2 separate regions of the Homo sapiens genome follow, and region 2 is linked to region 1. The links are contacts of gene promoters, found by promoter capture Hi-C in human tissues and cell types (Jung and others, 2019). All regions are on one chromosome and are shown on one strand. The core of a region is centred on a gene start or on the middle of the fragment in contact, and the rest is flanking DNA. Distances in the headings are between cores, read along the strand shown. Region 1 holds the start of EIF4EBP3 (eukaryotic translation initiation factor 4E binding protein 3). Region 2 holds the start of LOC124901091 (a long non-coding RNA gene).

Region 1 (7,275 bases), core at 2,612-5,111:
TTTTGTGAAGTAACGCTACAGGATGAGCTTCTGAGAGTCTGAGAAGCCCCTGAAATTTTAGAATTCTAGTCATAGTAGGAGGTGGGTTAGGAAGACTGGTGGTGGGAAGATGAGAGAATTCCTGTTTAATGACCTCTACTTTTCAATGAAACATCAGGCAGTGTCAGAAGAAGACAGCAGGGAAAGGAAGGTTTCATCAGTTTCTCAGTGGGGCCTCTAATCTTTGGGTAAAGAACCAGAATTCTAAAGTGTGGGCCAGAGAAAGCAGGTGCTTCCTATGTGGTGCTGTCTTCCCCTCTCCTCCCCTCATTGGGCTGGCAGCACTGAATTGGAGGGGGGCTTCTGTCTCTTAGAAGCAGGTATGTGATGACATCAGCCGACGCCTGGCACTGCTGCAGGAACAGTGGGCTGGAGGAAAGTTGTCAATACCTGTAAAGAAGAGAATGGCTCTACTGGTGCAAGGTATGGGTGGGTTCTTTGGTATAGCCTAAATCCCTTTCCTGCTGTGGTTGGCTATGCTGGAGCAGGTGCTGAGATTTTGATTGACTGGGAGGGGAGGCATGGAAGCTCTTGTACCACAGGCTGCTTGCTCAACCCCCGTCTCTCTTCAGAGCTTTCAAGCCACCGGTGGGACGCAGCAGATGACATCCACCGCTCCCTCATGGTTGACCATGTGACTGAGGTCAGTCAGTGGATGGTAGGAGTTAAAAGATTAATTGCAGAAAAGAGGAGTCTGTTTTCAGAGGAGGCAGCCAATGAAGAGAAATCTGCAGCCACAGCTGAGAAGAACCATACCATACCAGGCTTCCAGCAGGCTTCATAATCCTCGGTTCCCCAGACTCACCGGACACCATCTCCTATGCCTTGGAGACCTTCTGTCACTTGGCTCCCTTCTTACCACCACCAAGACTGTCCCACTGGGCCTGACCCACCTATGAGGGAAGAAGTCCCACCTGGGCCAGAGGGAGTTCATGTGTTACTCATAACATGCATTTCAATAAAAACATCTCTGCGGTGGGCCTTGGGTAGGAGAGATGAACCCTTCCGGTGCCAAGCTAGTCCCCTCTGGTGTCCTCGACTGCCCTGCTCCCTGTGTATCTGCAAACCTCTGTTCTCCCTTCTCCATTCATCAGGAAGGGATCTGCTGGGTAAAGTCAGACTACTGCCTACCACTTTTTCCCAAAGTAGACTGAAAGCACATCCTGTGCTGGGCGGAGCAGCTGTGTTTGGATGGTTTCATTTCAGCATGAGAACAGACTCAAATAGAACGGGGAGACTTTTCCCTCAACAAAAGGAAAGACAGTCCTATTTGCACTGTATCACCCTTGAGATACTACTGTTACAGAGATTAGAACCACATTGAGTGGGGTTTTCTGTGTAAATCGAAGGAGAAAAAGACCAGATTACTGAGATTGGGGATTGTAACTCTGACTTGCCAAACAAACTGCTGCCTCATTTTGGGTTTCAGTGTGAACTCTAAGGTCTCTTGTAACCCTTTGAGAGAGGTACTTGGTGGACTATCATGCTGTGAGAAGGGTACAAGGTTTTTGGTGTTGGAATAGAGGAACTGGTGCTTAGAGGTGGGAAGCAGAAAAGGCACAGGGAGAGACAGGATGGCTATAGGCTGGGACAGCACCTCTTTTCCAAGAGTCCTGCTTTGGAATGGATAGGGGAGGGGCTGCTGGGGGGCCCTGGTTCCAGGAAGGCTGCTTCCTGGGAAGACAGGAACAGCCCTTGGCAGTGGCCAAGCTATTGCTGTTTATGGTTTGGAGGCTCATGTAACCTGCCACTGTAGCGTGCCTCAGGTTCTAATTGCTGCTGGAAGTGGGCCTGGTGGGAGCTGGGAATGATCTGAGGCCTCTGAGCTTAACCAGGCCTGCCAGGGCCTTCAGCTGTGTGGCTGAGATGAGAAAATCAGCATTGAGGAGAACACTGGAGCCAAGGCATTTCTTTGAATGTTTACTAAGCAGTCAGAAGGTGACTTACTCCATTCCCCAGTTCCAGCCCCTGAGCATAGAGGGTTTAGGGTTAGGAGGAGTACCACAGACTGAAGAGGAAGTAGAGTTAAGGGCTTGGCAAGTTGCCCACTCCTATCCCTGGTCTAGCTGCCTCAGAACTAAAGGAGGCCTGGAACTAACAAGTCACTCCCTTCCAGATTAGATGAGGCCAGCTGGCCTTTGGATGCCCCAGGAAGAGGTGGTGGCAGCAGTGGCATGAGGGATCCCTCTGTAACTCCACATGCCAGGTCATCTGCACTGGATTAGATGTCCATTTCAAATTGTGCGTCATCTGGAGAGAGAAAAGGCAGGAAGACAGGTTGCTGGTCTGAGGATCTGCAGGCTCAGCATCAGTGCAGAAACCCCTCTTGGAACTGAACCCCCGCACTGTGTCACAGTGGCATTTGAACTCAAAGGCTGGGACAATTCTTAATTCCTGCTTTCCTTACCGGGTATCTCTTCCTCTGTCTCCTGCTCCTTCAGCTCCTCCAGCTTGGAGAGAGGGGCTGTTGGAGGAGTTGTGACCCCGGGAATCTGAGGGAGGCAGCAGGGGGGTGTCCGGGCAATGGGTGAGTTCTTGCACTCCAGCAGGAACTTTCGGTCGTAGATGATCCTGGTGCCTGTCAAGGGGTTGGGACTGAGGTAAGAGTCAGGAGCTTGGGTACCGAGGTGACTGGGGTCCCAGACTCAGGCCTTTTGGGGCCTGGAGGTGAGGGTGGTGTCAAATTTCCCTGTGTATCAAAGGACATCGGCTCTGAAGCCCAGCTAGGTTCTCAGCAGACAAGCCTTCATAGTGCTTAAAATCTTCCAGACCTAACCAAGATGTGGGTATAAAGCAAGGGGGGCATCCCAGCTGGTATAGGCAGGGGCTTTATGTTTGGGAGAGCTTCAGATCTTGGCTCTAAGAGGAACACCAAACTTTGAGTTCAGGTACTTCATGCTGCTCCTCTACCACTCTGAAACCTCTGCTTTGGTCTCACCAGTGAAGGTGAGACCTAGACTAACAGCCTCAGGTGGTTCAAGAAGTGAAATAGCAGTTGTGAAGGGTTCCACCCAGTGCTGTTACCTGGGCTATCTCCTGCAGGGAGGAGAAACGTACTGTTCTAATCCTGACCCCTCCCAGGTCCTATAAGGTTCACACTAGCTCAGAGGAACTTGGCCCGCATAATGTCCTCAAAGGGTCCTGCCCTGTTCCTCCCCTCCGCTTCCGCGTGGCAGGAATCCCTGGGTCGGGAGCCCAGCAGCTCGTGATCCCAGGCTGCTCGCCCAACCAAACAGACGCCAGCCAGCAGCACAAAAACGGAGCAACTGCCCCAACTGTTCTAACTACTCCACTTCTCAAGACCCGGTGCTTCCGGCTGAGGTCACGCTCAGTAGGGGGCCCTGGCCCCTATTCCTAGGAAGCAAAGTCGCGAGGGGTAAGGAGCGTGTGTAAGGCTCCAAGAACCCAGGCCACAGTGAAGGATTACAGCCCAAACACCCGGAAGCTAGGCTCATGGCCTTGTTGCATCACTTAGAAGTTTTTGGGAACTGAGCTTCCGCTCCAAACATTCTCCCCCAAAGCTACAACCTGTAGAGGGGCCTGCGGACAAGTCTTAGGTCTGTCCCTCCCCTACCCCCGCCCCGCAACAACACGCACGCGCTAATATGTCCGCAGCCTGCGGACCCCTGCCCGGCCCGCTGACCTCCGGGGGTAGTGGCGTATAGCGTGCCCCCCGGCGTGGTGCTGTAGCAGTCGGGCAGCTGGTCCCGGCCCCCGGGAATCGGGCAGCTAGTGGACGTTGACATAGCGAGCGGGAGGAGCAGCAAAGTAACCGCCTGGCGTTGAGGTCGAGGAGCGCAGCTCTGAGTCTGAGGCGGACTCAGCCGACCACGTGCAGCTGCTGGCAACAACACTAGAACAACGTCACGCCCAGGGCGGGCCACCGGCCGTCACTCAACCCGACGGTCCCGCCCTATCTGCTAGGAAGCCAGCCCGGTTCAGAGAAAGCTGGAAATGCGTCCAAAGTCCCAGGCCCCACACCAGCTTCCAGTTCCTGCTGGCCCAGCGCTGGCCAACCTGCCTGAGTGCTGCAGCAGCTCAGCTATTTACTGTTTATAGCCGGGAGCTGGGGGCAGGTGAAGTAGGGCAAGCGTTTTTATCCTGTATTAGTTCACCCATTCCTTGCCAACTTTTGGATAGTAAAGCACTATGATTAGCCAAAGTCACACATCTTGCAGGAAGGGAAGCTGGGATTCAAATCTGACTGCATCTGATTCCAGGACTGTGCCCTTAAGCCCAGCTGTGTACTGCCTCCCATAAACAGTAACAGTACAAGGCCGGGTGCGGTGGCTCACGGCCTGTAATCCCAGCACTTTGGGAGGCTAAGGCGGGTGGATAGCTTGAGCCCAGGAGTCTGAGACCAGCCTGGGCAACATGGTGAAACCTAGACTCTACTAAAAATACAAAAATTAGCCGGGTGCGGCAGCATGCGCCTGTAGACCCAGCTACTCGGGAAGCTGAGGTGGAAGGATAGGTTGAACCCAGGAGGCGGAGGTTGCAGTGAGCGGAGATTGCACCACTGCACTCCAGCCTGGGTGACACATGCCTTGATGGCCTGGAGCACAGCAGGAAGGGGAAGGTCAGTGAGGGCTGGTCATCTTTCTGAAGAAGTGGTACCTGGACTAATAAAAGGATGAGTCAAGTTTGGGGGCTACAGCTGAGGCATCACCAGTCAGAAGGCCTGCCCTTTGATCTCTTTGCCAGTTAACTAAGGAGGGGCAGGGGGCTAGTGAGGAGGGCTTGGTCTTTAGAAGGAAAGAAAGGTCAGAGAGTTTGGCCTTGGAGTTTTTTTTTTGTTTTTTTTTTTTATGTAGACACAGTGATATGACAGGCTGGAGCAAGGTGGTGGGATTGGTGAAGATGTATATATGCTGGAAATCTTGAATTCATCAGGCTGTCCTGTTTGGCTTCCTCAAAATCAATACTGCCTCCACTGTCCCTTCCCCTCACCAAAAATTAAGTATAGACCACCTGACTGCATCCATTTATCAATATTAACTCAGCTCTGGCTTCATCAGATTTCTCCTTAGGTCTGATTTCTTCACTCATTTAAAAAAAGATTGCTTCTCAAACTATTTATTTTCTGAGATAGGGTTTTGCTCTGCTGCCTAGGCTGGAATGCAGTGGTGTAATCTCAGCTCAATGCAAACTCTGCCTCCTGGGTTCAGGCCATCCTCCCACCTCAGCCTCCTGAGTAGCTGGGACCACAGGTGCCCACCACCACACCGGGCTAATTTTTGGATTTTTTATAGAGACAAGGTTTCACCATGTTGCCCAGGCTGGTCTCGAATTCCTGAGCTCAAGTAACCTATCTGCCTCGGCCTCCCAAAGTGCTGGTGTGAGCCACCACACCTGGCCAGCTTCTCAAACTTTAATGTGCATATAAATCATCTGGAGATATTGTTAAAATGATAATTCTGATACAGTATTGGTCTGGGTGAGATTTTGGATTTTTTTTTTTTTTTGACACAGGGTCTCACTGTCACCCAAGCTGGAGTGTAGTGGTACAATCATGGCTCACTGCAGCCTCAACCTCCTGGGCTCAGGTGACCCTCCCACTTCAGTGTCCTCAATAGCTGGGACCACAGGTGCATGCCACTGTACCTGGCTAATTTTTAAATTTTTTGTAAAGGCGGGGTCTCACTATGTTGCCCAGGCTGGTCTCAAACTTGTGGGCCCAAGCGATCCTCCCAAACAGGCATCCTCCGAAACAAGAATTACAGGCATGAGCCACCGTGCCCAGCCAGTTGTGGATTTTTTTTTTTTTTTTTTGAGATGGAGTTTCGCTCTTGCCGCCCAAATGGCATGATCTTGGCTCACCGCAACCTCCGATTCCCGGGTTTAAGCGATTCTCCTGCCTCAGCCTCCTGAGTAGTTGGGATTACAGGCATGTACCACCACACCCAGCTAATTTTGTAATTTTAGTAGAAACAGAGTTTCTCCATGTTGGTCAGGCTGGTCTTGAACTCCCGACCTCAGGTGATCAGCCTGCCTCGGCCTCCCAAAGTGCTACGATTACAGGCATAAGCCACCACACCTGGCTGGTTTTTTTTTTTTTTTAAGATGGAGTCTTGCTCTGTCACCCAGGCTAGAGTTCAGTGGCATGATCTCAGCTCACTGCAACCTCTGCCTCCTGGGTTCAAGCGATTCTCCTGCCTCAGCCTCCTGAGTAGCTGGAATTACAGGAACCCACCACCGCACCGGGCTAATTTTTTGTATTTTTAGCAGACATCAGGTTTCACTATCTTGGCCAAGCTGGTCTCGAACTCCTGATCTCCAGTGATCTGCCTGGCTTGGCCTCCCAAAGTGCTGGAGTTACAGGCATGAGCCACCGGGCCTGACTGCAACTGTGAGTTTTTAATACAGTAATGCAAACGCTTCAGGGCCTCAGAAACACACTTCAGGTATCAAGGGTATGTATATTTTATTGTCCCGAAAAGGATTTTGAGTATCTTACAAAATGGTGCATGCCAAAATGAAGTGTCTTAGCAGTGCTGGAGGGTAAAGCTTGGGAACAGATTGTAGTGAATCATTTATGATAACTAACCTTTTATGCAACGTGAGGAAGTGTCTGACAGGGGGAATGGGAGAATAGGGTGGAGGATGGTGAGATTTGAGGGTAGAGTCCAGTCTAGTGAAACCAGGTGGGCAAACGGGCGATGGCTGTGAGGATGGAGAGAAGTGGATGAGATTCAGATACACAGAGGAAGAATAAAGTGACTGATTAAGAGTGGGGTGAGGGAAAGTGTAAACTAGGATAATTTTCAGTCTTTTGGCTTGAGAGTCTTGGTGGCTAGTAGCACCAACTAATATGATAGGGAAAACAAGAAGAGCAGCATATCTTATATGAGGGAATGAATAATATGTGTTCAGATGGAGCACAGGAGGAAGCTAGATATAGTGAAGCCATGGGGAGAACTCTGAGTTAGTGGCTCAAATTTGGGTGGTGTGAAATTCAAGAGTGTGGGGATGGGCTAGGATCGGTAGCTCACATCTGTTAATTCTGGCATTTTGGGAGGCTGAGGTGGGAGGACCGCTTGAGCCCAGGAGCTCAAGACCTGGGCAATACAGCAAGACCCTATCTCTATTTATAAATAAATAAATGTGGGATGAGATCATCTGGGGAGAAGATACAGTGTAGAAGCCTGGGCACATCAACATTTATTTATTTAAAAGATAGTAGAGAAAAAGAATTCACCAAAAGAGACTGAGAAAGATGAGTCGGAAATAGGAAAA
Region 2 (7,275 bases), core at 1-2,500, 970 kb before region 1:
CTAGCCCACCCCTAACTTCTAGGAATCTGTCCTCAGAGAGCATTCACCAGTATCTCAACATTGTTCCCTTTTCCCACACAGCCTGTGGGACTGTTCTCTTGTAGTCAAAATATTTATCTGGTTCTATGGCTACTTTTCAATAGTCTAATAACAAGTGAGTAAGTTGGGGGAAGCATGGGGAGGTCAGTTTTTCTTGACTGTTCAACCTGCTGAGCATAATGGTGAGTGAGTGGAAAGCTGGGAGACCTGTTCCAACAAGAGCTTTCTCATCCCCTGACCTTAGGCCAAATCACACCCTCCCTGGTGTATAGGCTTTCAAGGCTTAAAAGGGAAATTTTGATCTTCTCCCTACCTACTCTCTGCTCCTGGTTCTTATGAAGTTTGTAATACATCAGAAGCTTCTTGAGTCCAGAAAAGTCTAGAAACACCACTTGGTTAGGTACAACTGGTATCTTCTTATTTTGGAGGAAGAAACCACAGAAAGCAGCAGCTAAAGACCTACCACATGGGACCTCTGCCTTCTCCTGTGTTGCCCAGGACAAGTGGCCCAGTGTTCTTTTCCCAAGGTCTGGAGTCAGATGTTATTTCAACATATATATACCACTAGAGTTACACACACACACACACATGCACAGAGTCGCAGTGTCTTCTCAACTGTTGGAGACTGAATTCAAAGAAATAATAAAATGATAGGAAACTACTACCCTTCTGGATATGAGAAATGGGGTCTAGAGAGGGAGTACTTCAGAAGAGAGTGGAAATGTAGGAGGCCTGAGGAAGATTTTGGTGGTAAGGACAGTATGAGAAATGCACACATGTAGACCATCATAGTCACACTCACGTAGGCTCCTTTTCCTCACTTGTCTCAGTCACGGGGCATTAGTTTATGTTCATAATCCAATAAATGGTTTTGTGAAAATCCCACAGTCTCGGGCACATACCTATGATCTGTAACTAGATAAGTCCTGTGGCTGTCAGTCAGGGTCTTCACTATTCTTTCTCCTCTTGGTAGACAACCTCTTGTGCCCCTGGGAAGTAGAGGAGGAGGAGGAGACCTTTAAATTGGTAACCTGTGTGCATGCTGCGTGTTCCCTGCTTGATCTATGGGCAGCCTCTCCTGGGATGAAAACAGTAGCTCTGGGTCATGGCTCTGCAGGGAGAGAAGACCTGGTTAAGACTTGGGCTTTGGCAGGCTGTGGTGACTCATGCTTGTAATCCCAGAACTTTAGGTTCCAAGGTGGGAGGATTGCTTGAGCCCAGGAGTTCAAGACCAGCCTAGACAACATGGAGAGACCCCATCTCTGCAAAAAAATACAAAAATAGCCAGATATGGTGGCACATGCTTATAGTCCCAGCTACTAGGGAGGCTGAGGTGGGTGGATCACTTGAGCCTGGGAGGTTGAGGCTACGGTGAGCTGTGATTGCGCTGCTGCACTCCAGCCTGGGCGACTGAGATTCCATCAAAAAAAAAAAAAAAAAGACGGGCTATCTGATCCTGTTTGGCTTCTGCCTACCTAAAGCTTTTTGCTGGTCCAAAAAGGCGCTTCATTCCAGTCATGCAGCTGCCCCAGTCTTGGTCTTTATTTAGGAGTGCTCGGCTCTTTCATCTGGTCCTGCTTCTAAAACATTCCGGTACTGCTTTCTCCACTCCAGCTTTCCCAGATCTCCAGGAAGTCTTTTTTTTTTTTTTTTTTTTCCAATTGAGCTATCATTTACATACCTAAAATTCACCTTTTAAAAATGTATAATTCAGGGGTTTTAGAATATCCACAAGATTGTATAACCATTACTATCTAATTCCAGGACGTTTCATCATCCCCAGAAGAAAAACTTCATAATCCCCATTAGCAGTCACTACTGATTCTCCCCTCCCCTTGCCTCTGGCAACCACCAGTCTATTTTCTATCTCTGGGTTTGCCTGTGCTGGACATTTCGCAGAAGCTGACCCATAACATATGGCCTTTCGTGTCAGGCTTCTTTCGTCCCAGACAGCTGTTTGTGTATACACAGTTGCTCTGTGCTGTTCTGGGGCATGGGAGGAGGAAACATCATGAGATGGGCATGGTCTCAAGGAGTGGCCTTCCTGCTGCAGATACTGGGGCCATAAGCCTAGATACCATAAATGAATATGAGAGTCTTGGGGATGAAACCCAGCAGTTAGAACAGAAACTCGTGGATTGATTTGGTTCTTCTTTTCTAATCTGGTATGACAGCCGGAACTTGACCATCTCTTAGCCACCTGGGCTGAGATTTCTTGGTAGGGGTCCTCTCCTGTCCATCTTTATCCCAGTTCTGCTTCCCTGGCATAGTTTTTATTACTACCTCCCCCCCGCCATGCCACCCCCACATACTCTACACACCTTGTAGGGCCCTTGGCATTTGTATTACGGCTGCTACCTTTGAAGGGGTGGGAAAGAGCTAAGGCATGTGGGCATCTGTTGTTGGAGGAACACGTGGGAGTGCGGTGTCAGTGCGTGGCTGCTGTTCCTCTTTGCGGGAGTCTCTCCAGCCACTTACGGAAGGTTGCCTTCTGCTAGGGACAACCCTCCCAGGGCTGACTGAGAAGTGTTTTGGCCTAGGAGTTTCCTGGGACCTGTCAAGAAAACAAAAATAATACTATGTACTAAACTTTAGTCTATTTAATTCCAACATCCCTATTACGAGAAAATAGACTTTGAATACTTCATCTCTCCTTAAGTCACATAGCTAACACTTCAGCCCAGTTCTGTCTGTCTGTGTTCAAACTTTTGTGCTGTTTTCACACAGGGAAGCAAGGGGGCAAGGCTTGCTTTCCTGTTGCACCACACTCTCTTACATTCTTTGCCACCCAACAATATATTCCACATGCTGGATCTCTGCCCCTTTCTTCAAAGTAAGGGCCTCTGTGAAGTGGCCAAGGTAGTCATGTCTGCATGGCTTACGCTGATTATCTGCTGTAGAGTTTGAAAGAAATTAGAAATGAGGCCTTCCATAGACAGAATCTCTCGTCTTCTCTTGCAGCCAACAGGAAGGCCGGGTGTGCAGTCACATCTCTGCTAGCTTCGGAGCTGACCAAGGATGATGCCATGGCTGCTGTTCCTGCCAAGGTGTCCAAGAACAGTGAGACATTCCCCACAATCCTTGAGGAAGCCAAGGAGTTGGTTGGCCGTGCAAGCTAATGTGGGTCCTGTGACCGCGGCAGCTCCTCAGCGGAGCCGCAGACTGTCCTGCCCTGCAGCATGTGCCTAAAGGCTCAAGGGGATATTCCTCTGGGGTGGCCACTCCCACCACCCTGACCCTGTCTTTCTCTCTGGCCTGCTGCTCTCTCAACATCACATACAGCTTCAGCTGCCTGGAGGCCAGAAGGAAAGGGCAGTGCAGGGGAGGCCTGAGCCCGACTTAGCCAGCCCTGGCTGTTGTATTACCAAAGCAGGGTCCATGTTTGCTGCCTTAACCCTGTCTCCTCTCTGTTACTCAGAGGGCCTCATCTCAGACAAGGCCCAGCCTGCTTTTTCTCAGCCCTGACTTTCTAATGGGCTTTCCCCCCTAGGTCAGTCTTGCTGGATTTGTGCTTTTCTTTTGTGGTTTCTCTGGCCCTGAGAATAGCATGGGGCTTGTAAACCTTTGGGCTAGATCCCTCCTTTCATTGCTGTTGTCTCTGCTCTTCCCTCTCCTGGCTGTGGTTATTTATTATTAGTGGTGTGGCACTGGGAGCTGCTCCTAAGGAAGCAGGGAGCAAATCCCACCTTTACCCCACCTTCCTGGGAAAGGCCTCCAAAGCAAAGGATCTGGACCAGTTTCCCTGCTGTGCTGTGGCCCAGGCCAGAGCCTGTGGGCAGGCAGGCAGGGCATAGCGACAGTGTGGGACCTGCCCCCAGCTTCTGCCACGCTTTATGCCCTTGCCTCTCTGGACGCTCTGCACCAACCCCAGGCTACTGAGCCACCTTCCCTCCTCATGCCTTCCCTGAGCTTTGGTGCATCTCATCTGGACTATGGGTTGTACTGTGACCATCCCAACACCTCACCCTCTGTCTACAAGGAAATGGGAGGTGGAGCCTCCTGGCTGAGAAATTGTTTTGCAAATGGATCTATTTTTGTATGAAAAAAAAAATTTTTTTAAAGAAAACTGTTCCTTCCCCCTTTCCCCTCCATAATGTAAGAAGCTTTGGTGGCAGGTTACAGAGTTCTGGGATTTCTTCTCACAGGCCCAATCCTGAATGTGCCCCTGGACCTTCTGGACCCTTGAGTCCAAGGCAGATCCTCTCTCCCAGGGAATCCGACACAGGAGGAACCCCTTCTCTGGTTGAGCTGGGCCAGGCCTAAGAGTAGCAGGAACTCTAAGACCACAGAGTTTTTTATAAATGTATAAATGTATCAAGCCAAATGTGCAGATGCTAACTGGACATTCTGGGGAACTGGGCACCAGGAGTGCCTTCATACACTGTACCCCAGCTCTCTTCTAAAAGAGAAGTGGGTGGGCACACTGAACTGTTTGGTGGCCCCAACCACAGGAAGCTGCAATTCTCTGGCTTAGGGTGATACTTTTGCCCTCCTTGTGCCCCTCTCAGCTTTCCATCCCCAGCTAGGAAGAAAGAATGGCACTCTTGGGCTTGGCCCAGAATTAGAGTTATTAGAGCAAGAGAGAGCTTAGGAAGCATGAGGGCAACTATAGTGAGGCCTTATTGCCAGGAGGGAGGGTTTTGGTTGCTGGCGCTTGTGTATAAAGGGGCAAGAGCAGCTCCTTTGGACTATTCCTGGGAGGACTCTGATGCAGGGCGTCTGTTGCTCCCCTGGGTCACCTCCTCCCTGCTCGCTGACATCTGGGGCTTTGACCCTTTCTTTTTTAATCTACTTTTGCTAAGATGCATTTAATAAAAAAAAAGAGAGAGAGAGAGAGGTGTGAGGGACAAAATGCAAACCTATTTCCCTTGCCTCATAGGCTTCTGGGATGTCATCACCTCCAGTTTGTTGGTTTTGTTTCCAACTGTTAATAAAGCATTGAAACAGTACTGCCTTACAGCTTCCTGTGTGAATTTCTGAGCTGTTTTCTTTTCACTCTAGTCCAGGCTCCTCTAGTCTTTCCTGCCTCAAATCCCTGGTTGACCTGACAAATCACTGTGAAAAAGCTAAAGGTGCCAGACACTTTACTTGGGCACAGGGCTAGAGATGATTAATACATGGTGGCTGCTGCCCCACCAGAGCTCACCTCAGGGCCGTTTGGCCACAGTAAAGGAGTGGGCGCCTGGTTCAGCTCCCTGACTCTTCCACATTGCTGCTACTTGGTTTGGAGCCCTTTTTTGGAACTCACTTGGAACCTTTCATGTTCCCAGATGTCACGCAAGGTTTCCTGGCAGTACCTGTGTCTCTTGCTGAGGGAAGCATCTGGCTCCCATTTTCTCATCCCCTCTGCTCTGTTGGTGGCCACAGACCACATTCCAGAGTAGAGGGGTTTACCCTGGGGTGGAAACCTGAGCCTGCCCAGCAGAGGTTGGGAGCCTGAGGTCATGCTCCAGATGACTTGCCACTTGGAGCCATACTTGTCTGAGCACGTTATGACCTGCACAAAAAAGCCAGACCAGCAATGAGCAGGCCCAGGATAGACAGGGAGAGGCCTGGAGAGGACCACAAACCCATTCGGGCGGGCTCTGGAACTGGAAATAAAAGCCTTTTAAATAGCCCTGGAGCCTGGGCAGCTGCCTCCTCAGTATGGCCTGAGGTGTGGGGATGGGTTGCCTGCCGCCTCCCTCCCGTCCCCCCGGAGGCCACGCCTTTCTGGTTCAGAGCTTTATAGGCACACATACCAATTAGGGGACAAACCACAGCTGCTCACGCGCTCTGCCAGTCTGCTGCTGTGCCTGGAATAGAACCCAGGCGCCCGGCACCCCGCCCCTCCGCAGCCTGGCTCTGAGTAACAAAACCCTGCTTCCATCTCAGCAACCGTGCACACCACCCTTCCTCCCACGCTAGAAAGTCGCCCCCAGATTCTTAAGTTGGAAGGTTTGGTTCCCATGACAACAGACTTGAGCTGGCAGAATGGGTGACCTGGCTCTGGGAGCCTCCGCAGCGCGGAGGAAGCCGCATACCCTTGCTGACCAGCCAGATAACCGCAGTGGCTCTGTCTTTGTGTTCTTGGGTCCTTCCGGGTAGTTCCCCTTTTAAGTCCCCCTTCACCCCCAGCTCCGTGTTTTTCTGCAGCTTCTCTGGCTGCAGCAACCTCGGAATCCCACAGTGCTTCGAGGAGGCAGGCGGAGGGGGCGGGGAGATGGGAGAGCAGGCGAGTGAGTGGAAAAGCACCGACAGGAAGGAGGGAGGGGAGCTGAGTCTGCGATGGATCTCATTTCCTGCACGTCCTTTCAGTCCCCTTGACCCCCGCAAGAAGAGGATGAGCCCTCCAATTTCTTAGGCTTCGCTACGGAGATGTCAGCGGGAAGGCGAATTCCAGATGGGGAAACTGAGGCTCGAGCTGCAGACTTGGCTTTGGAAGAATCACCTCCCGCATTCCCTCCCACTCCCGCGGCTTTCCCAAAACCCCTAGGCAGCGGGGGTGGGGGTGCGGGGGCAAAGGAGAGTCTACCCTCCTCCCGTGAAGCCCTCCGGGGCGCTTCGGGTAGGCAATTTTAGTCAGGAAGGGGCGGGAACTAACGAAACGTCCTCTCCCCTCTACCCAAGGCGTTTGCCCGGCGCCAACCCGCCCCCGCCCGCGCCGGGGTCTCCTCTTCTGCCTGGAGACAGCCGCAAGCTTAGACTGCACACTCCACTGCACACTGACACGCCGCACTCAGATCCCCACCCCCACAGCGGACCGATCACACAATGGCACACGGTACACAGATCCATAGGCACACAATCGCACACTGTCTCATAGGCACAACGGCATTGCAAGCATACACAACCATATTGCACAGTCACACACACACACGCAATTCGGAAACATCTAGACGCGCAATGACACAAAGTGGCCTCCCGATTCCGCCCTTCTTCCAGCACCCACCTCAGCTCATCACTTCATGCACACATGCCAGGAGCTTCCATCGCTTATACAGAAACGTTCAGCTTTTCAGAAGAAACGTTTTATTATTTTTTTGTCGAAGAAAAAAAGCCATATAAATATTAGAGTATAAAACTTGCGTGAGACACAGGAAGAGGGTGGGGTGGGAGCTACGTGACTATGCGAAGAGAAGCGCTTATAGGAGAAGTCAGTACGGGGGAGGGGGTCGCCTTAGCGCGTGGACACAGCACAAAACACAACACGGGCCGCCGCGGGCAGATCAAGGACAGACGGCTGCGCGGAGCCCG

The links. Contacts are between HindIII fragments. The study calls those that stand out against the background at their distance.
Region 2: a fragment that was not itself captured here is called in contact with the fragment with the promoter of EIF4EBP3 in region 1 in 1 of the 25 tissues and cell types used here (dorsolateral prefrontal cortex).

What each region holds. Positions count from the first base shown.
Region 1 is chr5:140,544,248-140,551,522 of GRCh38, reverse strand. It overlaps EIF4EBP3 (eukaryotic translation initiation factor 4E binding protein 3), which reads right to left and starts at 3,861. Exons shown (of 3, transcript NM_003732.3): 1 at 3,683-3,861; 2 at 2,447-2,617; 3 at 1,947-2,289. The coding sequence starts at 3,785. The coding sequence ends at 2,261. ANKHD1-EIF4EBP3 (ANKHD1-EIF4EBP3 readthrough) reads right to left here. Exons shown (of 36, transcript NM_020690.6): 35 at 2,447-2,617; 36 at 1,947-2,289. The coding sequence ends at 2,286. SRA1 (steroid receptor RNA activator 1) reads left to right here. Exons shown (of 5, transcript NM_001035235.4): 4 at 354-462; 5 at 612-1,455. The coding sequence ends at 823. RefSeq lists enhancers at 2,791-3,498, 3,649-3,738, 3,499-4,205, 4,206-4,914. The HindIII fragment of the contact is 4,539 bases long and covers 2,919-7,275 here.
Region 2 is chr5:141,512,734-141,520,008 of GRCh38, reverse strand. DIAPH1 (diaphanous related formin 1) reads left to right here. Exons shown (of 28, transcript NM_005219.5): 28 at 3,001-4,988. The coding sequence ends at 3,158. It overlaps LOC124901091 (a long non-coding RNA gene), which reads right to left and starts at 3,001. Exons shown (of 2, transcript XR_007058971.1): 1 at 2,361-3,001; 2 at 1-1,028. It overlaps PCDHGA1 (protocadherin gamma subfamily A, 1), which reads right to left. Exons shown (of 4, transcript NM_018912.3): 4 at 7,034-7,275. PCDHGA2 (protocadherin gamma subfamily A, 2) reads right to left here. Exons shown (of 4, transcript NM_018915.4): 4 at 7,034-7,275. It also overlaps PCDHGA3, PCDHGB1, PCDHGA4, PCDHGB2, PCDHGA5 and PCDHGB3, and 15 more genes. RefSeq lists enhancers at 2,720-3,345, 3,346-3,971, 4,598-5,223, 5,195-5,444, 5,224-5,849 and 2 more. The HindIII fragment of the contact is 3,163 bases long and covers 1-2,831 here.